2 separate regions of the Homo sapiens genome follow, and region 1 is linked to region 2. Evidence: promoter capture Hi-C in 16 types of primary human blood cells and fetal thymus (Javierre and others, 2016). All regions are on one chromosome and are shown on one strand. Each heading gives the region's core, a stretch centred on a gene start or on the middle of the fragment in contact. The rest is flanking DNA. Distances are from core to core; before and after follow the strand shown.

What was found. The method cuts DNA at HindIII sites, captures the fragments that hold promoters and counts their contacts. A CHiCAGO score of 5 or more calls a contact.
Region 1: a fragment that was not itself captured here is called in contact with the fragment with the promoter of GBP5 in region 2 in 7 of 17 cell types (total CD8 T cells, non-activated CD4 T cells, naive CD8 T cells and 4 more); the score reaches 9.1 in total CD8 T cells.

Annotation. Positions count from the first base shown.
Region 1 is chr1:89,216,895-89,222,057 of GRCh38, forward strand. No RefSeq gene overlaps it. Among named protein-coding and RNA genes, the nearest start is that of GBP4, 21 kb to the left of the region's middle. The HindIII fragment of the contact is 1,615 bases long and covers 1,041-2,655 here.
Region 2 is chr1:89,271,481-89,277,092 of GRCh38, forward strand. It overlaps GBP5 (guanylate binding protein 5), which reads right to left and starts at 1,380. Exons shown (of 12, transcript NM_052942.5): 1 at 972-1,380. It also overlaps the pseudogene LOC100421401. The HindIII fragment of the contact is 6,725 bases long and covers 1-4,719 here.

The DNA of each region.
Region 1 (5,163 bases), core at 598-3,097, 54 kb before region 2:
CCCACTTTTTGATGGGATTGTTTTAACAGACTCCTTCTTCCAATTTCTTTTCTTTTATTGCTGTGGACAGGAGAAATTGTAGAGGTTTTTTAAACATATCTAAAAAAGCTTTAAGAGGGAGTAGACGTGCTTACAAAGTTTTTTTTTTCTTTTTTCTTTTCTGCAAAGCAGGATGAAGGTATCCAAGGTAAGAAGCTTTTAACTCTAAAGGAAACAAGTAAAATTAGATAGCTCTGTTAGCTGAGGGTAGACCATCAGTGGCTTCCAAAACTTACTGTCCATGAGAATTATCTGCAGTGATGGTTACAAATGCTCCAAACCTGTAGTTTCAAAAAGTGCCACAAGTTATTCTGATGCACTTTAGTCATGGACCACACATTTATGAACAGTGCTCCATAAACAAATATGCTTATACCTTATTGTTATTTTTAACAATTTGTAAGTGTGACATTGAATTATTCCATATAATACAGCTTTGTAGTATCTACAGAATATTATTCATTGTGGATAATTAAAAAATAATTGAGCCTCTGTTTTAGTATTTAAATTTTCTTAAGGTAAGGACCATTTTGTTGTTGTTGTTGTTTCTCCAATGCGATGGCAAAAGACAGTCAGGCAATGTCTAAGGAAGAGAGATGAAGCAGGCTGGGGGTAGGGTGGAGAAAGCTATTCCACCCAGACCCTCTGTGAGGGGGCTGGATTTGGTCTCTTTGTTTGAGAAGTGACTACAGCTCTTGTTGCACAGAGAAGGGTAGGATGCATTCTTCCATGTCCTAGGTAGGGTTCTTTGCTACAGCCCTGAGTGGATACCCAAGGAGGAGGAGGAGCAGTGCATCCTGGGGATGTTGGGAGTGCACTGTCACCTCAAAGCCAACTCTGGACTAAATGGACATACTGGTTCTCTAGAAGCAAAGCACTCCACAAGCCATACAGCACAGGGCCACCTGCATGGTCCTCCAGCTAACTTAGCCCACCCTCTAGTGCAGTCTGTGTTTGGGAATTCATTGTTGTTTGTTAACCCAAATGTACATGAAAGGTAAAGCTTAGGAGTGAATTTACCTGGTGTGGGCCCTGCAGCCAGGGGACAAGTTCCTAGCCGCCCTTGCTGAGCCCTTCAGCTCTCCTGTGTCTGGCTCCCTGCAAATGAAATGTTCTTTTTAGTAGCTGAAAATCAAACCAGATATTGTTACCAAAACACCAGGGGTTTGTTCTAAGCCCTGATGCTCACTGCACATAAAACCAATCACCAAGATGATGAGGATTGCCAGGGAAGAAGGCTTTAATTGGGTGCTCCAGCTGAGGAAATGAGAGCTCAGTCTCAGATCCATCTCACTGACCAACTAAAATTAAGGGTTTACATGGCAGGGAAGAAATGTAACTATGTGTGGAGAAACAGGAACTAGGGAAGAGTAAAGAAACAATCGTAATTAATGAGGGTCATGGCATCCTATTGACTGGATATGATGATCTGGTGAGTTTCAGTTCTTTGATACTCTTTGAGAGGACTGGGGGTCCTTTCTTGAGGAAGGAACTCAGATAAAACAAATGTAAGTTTCAAGCCCTAAGACCACAAGTGCCAACCTCTATGTTTGTAAGAAAAAACTGTCTATGAGATTATTGGGTTGGTTTCAGTATAAGCCATCCAATTAAGAATCCAATGAGGAAAACTGAAATTGAAAAGACATACATTTCTTGTGGATTTTTCTGTTCACATTTTCACTGTTTTTGCTGAGGCAGGAGGTTGTGTGGCATGAGACAGTGTGTCCAGAATTGGTTCCTTCCAGTGGGTTCTTGGTCTCGCTGACTTGAAGAATGAAGCCACGGACTGTTGCAGTGAGTGTTACAGTTCCTTAAAGACGGTGTGTTCCTTCAGATGTTCAGATGTGTCCAGAGTTTATTCCTTCTGGTGGGTTCACGGTCTCGCTGACTTCAGGAGTGAAGCCACAGATATTCGTGGTGTTACAGCTCATAAAGGTAGTGTGGACCCAAAGGGTGAGCAGCAGCAAGATTTTTTGAGAAGAGTGAAAGAACAAAACATCCACAGTGTGGAAGGGGACCCGAGCAGTTTGCCATTGCTGGCTTGGATGTGGCCAGCTTTTATTCCCTTATTTGGCCCCGCCCATGTCCTGCTGATTAGTACATTTTATAGAGCACTGATTGGTCCATTTTACAGAGTGCTGATTGGTCCATTTTTACAGAGTGCTGATGGTGCATTTATAAACCTTTAGGTAGACACAGAGCACTGATTGGTCCATTTTTACAGAGTGCTGATGGTGCATTTATAAACCTTTAGGTAGACACAGAGTGCTGATTGGTGCATTTTTACAGAATGCTGATTGGTGCATTTGCAAACCTTTAGCTAGACACAGGGCGCTGATTGGTGTGTTTACAATCCTTTAGCTAGACAGAAAAGTTCTCCAAGTCCCCACCTGAACCAGAAGCCCAGCTGGCTTCACCTCTCAACAGGAAGAAAGTCAGCTTCTTCCACACTGGGCTTTAGAAACCAAGATTTGCCCCTCCTTTAGCATTGGTAAAGGTTTCCTTGATGATCCCAAGAAATACAGTGCATTCCCCTTACAGTGGGAATGTAAACAAAGCAATGGTATGCTGAAAACATAAAACATCCTGGCTCAGGAGTAATTCTGTGAGGGAAGAAGCTTGTTTTTTAAATTAACATTTTTTTTAATTCCTCATTTTTTCTTTTTATCTTCTTTTTTTGAATATATATATTTAACACAATGTTATTTTCACTAGCAATCAAAATACTCATATGTGTGTTTGCATGTACACATTCATGTATATTTTTCTATGTGCATACTTAACTTCATGGCCATATATTGCAGCGGGATAATTTAGGAATCAGAGAGACTGAGGAGTTGAAGAGGATACTTATTATTTATTATTTAGGTGCACCGGCCCAGTCAGATTAACATCCAAAAAAACTGAGCTCCAAACAAAGAGTCTGGTTATCTTTTAAGCATTTTGTGGGGTGGGGGAGATCTGTGCAGGGGGAAGCATATTACAGAAGCAAGAAACAAAGACAGTTATTTAATTGAGACATGCATTACATCATTTCTTACTTTTCAAGGAAAAACATGTTTTACAACTTGAGTTTATCTGCCTAGTGGCCTTGCAGCTGCACAGCTAGAAAAACAGGGTCTTCACAATGCCTGGGAAAGGGAGAGATAAGGCTCACTAGCCACAGGAAAACAGGCAGTTAAGTTTTAAAGGACTTCATCTCTTTCTCTTCCTCAGGGGGAATTGGGTTTTCTTACATACAACTGAGTTTTTGCTTACACATTCTTTAATTTCTTTTAATTCCTGTTTCAATATAACAACAAAAGCAGCTAGATAAATATAAACCTTAGCTAAATTGCCAGTGGTTTATCTAGTAAAATTTAATCATACAATATTTAGACCTGAAAGATACATTATAACTCTAAAAGTACGTGCAATAATATTAGAATTTTTTTGAAATCTTGTAATTAAACTTGGCAGACTCAAGACACAAACCTAATCTGAGATAATTATAGTGGTCCCATACTTTCTGAGTCATGAAGATTGATTTAGAGGAAGAATGAGCATATGACCTAAGACCAAATAAAAGCAGTCCTTCTTCAGTTACCTAGATCCAAAAAGTTTCTCCCTCTCTCCCTCTCACTCTTTCTCTTATTCTAGATAACTTCCTTTTTCTCTCATCTCTCTCATTTTTTAAAATGAGTGTATAAAGATGTGAGTCTAGAGACCCAGAATGTAAAGCCAGTTAGTTTTTTGCTCCAAAACATGATTTATGTTATTTTCAATGGAGGAAAAATAAATAAATTTGGAGTCCTACTTCCAGCTTCCATGACTTGTAAATGCCACAAGGAAAAAAATATTTTAAAATCATATTCCATAAGTCTAATCCAAAAAATATGAACAGGTAAAAGAATAACTATTAAAATGGTTTCTTACAATAAAGGAGTTTAATGAGCCTTGATTTAATGAAAATGACTTTTTAAGTATTCTACTAATTTAACTCCAGAACCAGTGATTTGGAACAACTTGTTCATTACAAATTCTTCAGTCAGGAAAAATGTAGAGACAAAGAAACAATGGTCTTTTAAAGATAAGATTCATAGCCTTGGGGAATTCTAGAATAGGAAAGTATAGTCACTGTGAAAACCAGTAAAAATAAGGCAAACTAAAACCACCTAGGATATTATTGGGCATAGAAATAGACAGGATAAAGACAAGGCTTTTAGAACTACCCAAAAAGTCAGGCAATGGAACTCACTTGTTGAGTTGGCTGTGATGTCACTTTTTCAAGAAATTGGAGATGCATCACTTGAGAAAAGTATACCCTCAATTCAGTCTTATTGTACCTGGAACATGGAGCTTAAAGGGAAAACTGAATTTAACAGATCTTTTAATTTGCAGAATAGATCAATGGGAAGAAATTGTCTCAAGTTAGGCTATTATATTGCAATCCTAGTATAGCATATTTATGAGTTTATAAAAGTCTACAGTGTCTCAGGCTGCTTTTGGAGAGACAAAGGCTAGTCTTCTGTGCCTCATGTCCAAGTTGGTTCAGGCTATGCTGCCTCACTTCATACTTCCACCCTTCCAGGAAGTAAGTGTTAGCTTTGTGACACAGCACAGATAGAGACTACAGACACCACTCAAGTTATAGCTTTAGACGTTTGTTTATTTATCTCATTGCCTTTATCTCATTACATATTCATTGCTCTGGCTCCCTTAGAGAACAGGTCCAGTGACTTGCAAAGGAGACTCTTGGGAAAAAGCATGTCATTCTTCTTCTGGAGATCCAATTGGGAAATACCTTAACCAGAGGGAAACACCTTAACAAGAGTTAGCTGGTTTGGTCCCTTCTGACTCTCAACACCTCCAGTTTAGTATAGGGAAGACATATGTATGTACATTGTTTTTAGGCCATAAGTCAAAAACTACCCCCTTTAACACACAACACTTGTCAGAGATTATCTATTTTAGATTTGTTACTTGGGAGTCAGGTCTCACTTCCCACCAACAGTGCTCAAACTAAACCCTCACTTTGCACTAACAGTGCTCAGACTAAACCTCCTCAGATTCTATTTATAAAAGCAAAAAGTTATTCCTTGCTTAACATTTCCTTTTACCATTTGCAGGAGTTGGGGGCTTATC
Region 2 (5,612 bases), core at 130-2,629:
AAAAAAATACTAAGAGAAAATGCTCAGAAGTGGTAGTGGAAGGATTTCTGAAAGAAAACATCTGTTTTCAGCCATATGATTCTAGTTTGGGTTTTGCGCCTGCATTTGTATATGTAGTTGTTATTGCTTGCTTTTGCTTATTTTGCATAGTTTCTGGTTTGAATTTCAAGGAAAAGGAAAAGGCTCTTATTAAGGATATAAATGGAAATCAAACTAGTACAAAATGCTTGAAGTATGTGTCATGGTAAGAAATTCAAAGGAGAGAATTTCAACGAGTGAACAGTTGCCAGACAGTATTGAGGGATCCAGTTGGGCAACTGTTAAATTAGGTGATTCATAATAGTAAAGGCAATAGAGTAGTAGAAGCAGAACCCAACACAAAAGGGGTTAGTTAAGTGAGTAGATGCCAAGAAACCAACATGAATTAAGTCAGGGCTATTGCTAAAGGAAGAAATCTACTTTCAAACAAAGTACAAGACTATGACTAAAAATACATCACTGTTTTCATGAAACTTCTCTCTGGGCAACATTTTTTTCTTGTCCTTAATGTTTGCAAGCTACTTACATTGCATCATATTCATTGTTCTTTCTCATGAAAATAATAGCTATCATAGTTTTTGAAACTTTCATGCTGAAGTTCGAGTCAGTTTAATCAGATTTTATGAAGGACGAAGGTAACTTAAGTGGAAATTATGATCCTGAATAAGTCATAAAATTGCAAAGGAAGAAAAATAATTTGAAGGCATTTCAAACTCTTAGTTTAGTCACCACACACATTGATGTCTAATTCAGCAAGAGGCAGACACAGCTGGTACTTGATGAATTCTGCTGCCTGTCTGATAAGAATACAATTTATTCTTTACTGAGGTCTGATATACCACATCAGGATAAGCTGCATCCTATCCTTTGTAGAATGTTTCTAAAACCAAATGAATCTTGCAAATCTCTTCCACCTCTTGCCCCAGTCTTACCGTGTCCGGAATTGGTGGGTTCTTGGTCTCACTGACTTCAAGAATGAAGCCGCGGACCCTAGCGTTGAGTGTCACGGTTCTTAAAGGTGGCGTGTCAGGAGTTTGCTCCTTCTGATGTTCGGATGTGTTTGGAGTTTCTTCCTTCTGGTGGGTTCGTGGTCTGGCTGGCTCAGGAGTGAAGCTGCAGACCTTCGCGGTGAGTGTTACAGCTCTTAAGGCTGCGCGTCTGGAGTTGTTTGTTCCTCCTGGTGGGTTCGTGGTCTCGCTGGCTTCAGGAGTGAAGCTGCAGACATTCCCAGTGAGTGTTACAGCTCATAAAGGCAGTGTGGACCCAAAGAGTGAGCAGCAGCAAGATTTATTGCAAAGAGTGAAAGAACAAAGGTTCCACAGCCTGGAGGGTGACCTCAGTGGGTTGCCACTGCTGGCTACTTCTCTTATCTGGCCCCACCCACATCCTGCTGATGGGTCCATTTTACAGAGAGCCGATTGGTCCATTTTACAGAGAGCTGATTGGTCTGTTTTGACAGGGTGCTGATTGGTGTGTTTACAATCCCTGAGCTGGACACAAAAGTTCTTCATGTCCCCACTAGATTAGCTAGATACAGAGTGTGGATTGGCCTATTTACAAACCTTGAGCTAGATACAGAGTGCTGATTGGTGCATTTACAAACCTTGAGGTAGATACAGAGTGCTGATTGGTGCATTTACAATCCCTTAGCTAGACATAAAGATTCTCCAAGTCCCCACCAGATTAAATAGATACAGAGTGCTGATTGGTGTATTTACAATCCCTTAGCTAGACATAAAGATTCTCCAAGTTCCCACTAGACTCAAGAGCCCAGCTGGCTTCACCCAGTGGATCTTGCACCGGGCGGCAGGTGGAGCTGCCTGCCAGTCCTGCTCCATGCACTGGCACTCCTCGGTCCTTGGGCCATGGATGGGACAGGGTGCTGTGGAGCAGGGGTCAGCACAGGTTGGGGAGGCTCAGGCAGCACAGGAACCCATGGCGGGGTGAGGTGGGGAGCGGGAGAGGGGAGGAGGCTCAGGCATGGCAGGCTGCAGGTCCCCAGCCCTGCCCCACCGGGAGGCAGCTAAGGCCCTGCAAGAAGTGGAGCACAGCAGCTGCTGGCCCAGGTGCTAAGCCCCTCACTGCCTGGGGCCGCTCCGAGTGCAGGTCCCTCAGAGCCCAAGCCCACCCAGAACTCGCGCTGGCCCTCAAGCACCGGGCGCAGCCCCAGTTCCCACCCCTGCCTCTCCCTCCACACCTCCCAGCAAGCTGAGGGAGCCAGCTCCGGCCTCGGCCAGCCCAGGAAGGGGCTCCCACAGTGCAGCGGAGGGCTGAAGGGCTCCTCAAGTGCCGCCAGAGTGGGTGCCCAGGCAGAGGAGGCACCGAGAGCGAGGGAGGGCTGCAAGGGCTGCCAGCACGCCGTCACCTCTCATTACCTTGATTATAAAATCGGGAGAAGAGGTATTTTAGAGCTAGTAAGAAAACTGCTTCCATGAGGGACTGGGCACGGTGGCTCACGCCTGTAATCCCAGCATGTTGGGTGGCCGAGGCGGGTGGATGACGAGGTCAGGAGATCTAGACCATCCTGGCTAACACGATGAAACCCCGTCTCTACTAAAAATATACAAAAAATTACCTGGGCATGGTGGCGGGCGCCTGTGGTCCCAGCTACTCGGGAGGCTGAGGCAGGAGAATGGCTTGAACCTGGGAGGCGGAGCTTGCAGTGAGCCGAGACTGCACCACTGCACTTCAGCCTGGGTGACAGAGCGAGACTCTGTCTCAAAAAAAAAAAAAAAAAGAAAAGAAAAGAAAAAAGAAAGCTGCTTCGATGAGAACTTGCTGAGTTCGAACTCTCGTCTTTTACTTTCACTGTGGTGATTTCTCATTTATTTTCTTCACTCAGTCCTGGGGTTTTTGTTCTTCCCACCCCATTTTCCCTGCTCGAAAAAGGAGACAATTTGAATACAAAATATGGAATAACAGAAAGGGGGATTTTTGAAAGTTCTCTGTAGGAAATAGAAACCAAAAAGGAAATTCAGTGACTAAGCCAGATGACAAAGGGAATTGCCCAACTGTTACCTAGTGTAGATAGGCTGGATGTATTTGACCTGACTTCTTTGAAACTGCATGTTTCCTAGAAACTGCAGAGAATCCTTTCAGTGCCAGCCATACTCCTCCCTGCTTCCATTGTTGTTGTTACTAGAAGAGAAATTTGAGATCTTTCACAGTTGTTCAAAGTATGTGGTATTTCAAACCTAGCTTGAAATACGTTGACATTCATCTCCAGTTTGGGAGTAGGCCAGGGGAAGAGCTCATATGATTTTTGAGGTCTATTGTTGTGAAATGTTAGAGCTGCTCACACAGGACTAAGTTTATTACTTTCGCAGTAGGTTCAGTAGCTGAGAACTTTAACTCACAGGCAAGGACAAAGTTTTTGGCACTTAGTACATGATGAATGATAACAAGGATATTATTTATTAGACATTTGTAATGCCCTGGACAGGTTTCACTACTTTGTGTGGATTATTCTATTTTAATTCTCCCAACAAATGCTTTCTCCCAATTTTACAAAAGCTAAGACACAGGGAGATTTAGTAACTTGCCCAAAATCACAGAGCTACTAATAAATGGATCTTAAGACTGAAACCCAAGCACTTTATTGTAGTCCTTTTGTGTTTGTTGAGTGAATCATCATAATAATCATCATTATTATTGTCCCTTTTTAATAAATGGATTCTAAGATCTGGACACTAAATATCTCATATTATCCTGGTTTCAATCCTACAAGACAATTTTTTTTCTATCTTTATTTTACAATGAACAGAGTGGCTGTTAGGCAGTATTTTTGGAGCTTTAGTTCCTAGACAAGGATTTGTGAGCAAGGGATATTTATTTTGAAGGTGCTCATAAGAAACGGGGTAGGACAGTGGGAAAGTGAAAACTGGAACGGAATGAAGCCAGTGACTGGGAACATATCTAGCAGGTTTTGTTGTGGGAACCAGGAGTTAGATCTCCTCAGGTAACTCTAGGAAACAATGTAAAATCTGCCTCCAATTTCCCTCTTGGGTGGGTTAGAAACCTGGGGTACTTTTCTTCCAACTTCCTTTCATTTCTGGATAAAGACTGGTCCTGAAAGCATAACCCCCTTGCACTCCTGACCTGGCCCACGTGTGGGCTGAGAAAAAATGCTTAGATGAAGGATCTCTGATGTTTGCAGTGAGATGCCATTGGAATGTGCAAGGTTGAGTGATAAAGGGAGATGGCCTTCACAGATGTTGTGGGTATCCCATCCATATTGCCCCTATCTTATGCAAAGATCAACCTTTCCTTAATGGCTTCTTCAATTTTGTGGCTGGTCGTTAGTTTAAATATATATATATACACACACACACACACACACACAATAGGAAAGTCTAAGCTATAGTCCTCTTTGCTGCAACTGATTTTGTGATCCTAACTGATATTCAAGATCTTCTCCTCTATTACCCATTCTAGGTTTTGCTCATACTTGATCAGGAGTTCTCCTTGTCTAGGTTGCCTTCTCAGTGGAGAGAAACATTTCTTCATTTCTGAGAAACCAGAAGACCTATTTCTGTGCTTTAATAAGGCTGTAGTTACTTCCAGTGCATCTTAACAGGCCATGCAAGCACCAAGAGTATCCCAGGGAATCCTTTGAGTGCCAGCCATACTCCTCCCTGCTTCCATTATGTACTATTTCCTCACAGAAACCATAATCATTTAAGCTTGCCAGTAGATCAATCCTTTTAATTGCCTGCTGGCTTGTCTACAAACATGAAATTCATAAAATGACCAGGTGGCAGCTATAGTTTCAGATTTAGTAGAACTTTACTATGACCCCTGGTAGAAAAACTGCTTAACTTCACCCTGAGAACTGGCCCTCTAGTCCAGCAGACTAGACAATGGATCACAAATTCACAAATAATTCAACGGAGAATACTCCTACTTTAACGCTTTGGTTCCCAGGCTCATATATTCCAGCTAGCATATAATATCCTTTAGTTATCCAATTATATACTGCATATTGAATGACAGTCCCCAACCCCACAATGGTCTCTACTGGCCATTCCAGTTTTGTTAGGCTGGCAGCTTTTAGATGATGTATAAGGACTAGTGGATTCCATGGTTACATTCGCATTGTTGTGCCTCTTTACTGTAAAGTAAAACTTTCAAAACTTTCTCTAAGCTGATGTTTAGTAGGATTTTAGGACATTTAAACAGACACTGCAAGTCCTCGAATAGGTGCTGGCTGAACCACTCTCAACAGGGGAATATCCATACCCAGAATTTATGTCAATTTCAGTAAAAAAAAAAAAAAATCACAGACTCCTCCAAGGTGCAAAAGGACTGATTTGATCACCTTGACATCTAGTGGTCTGGTTGGTCTTCTTGAAGGGTGGTATTATACTGAAGGCTCAGTGTCAATTTTTGTTGTCTTTGGGCCAATATTTAACGTGTAGTGAGATTGGCCTTGGTGAGAGGAAGCCCAGGTTGATGGGTCCATGCAAAGATTTCATCCCTGCTACCGTATCTGTTCTGTGCAAACACTAGGTAGCTGAGGATAAAGCCTGGCTCAAATCTACTGGATAAGTCATTTTAGCCACCTGGTTTGTTCA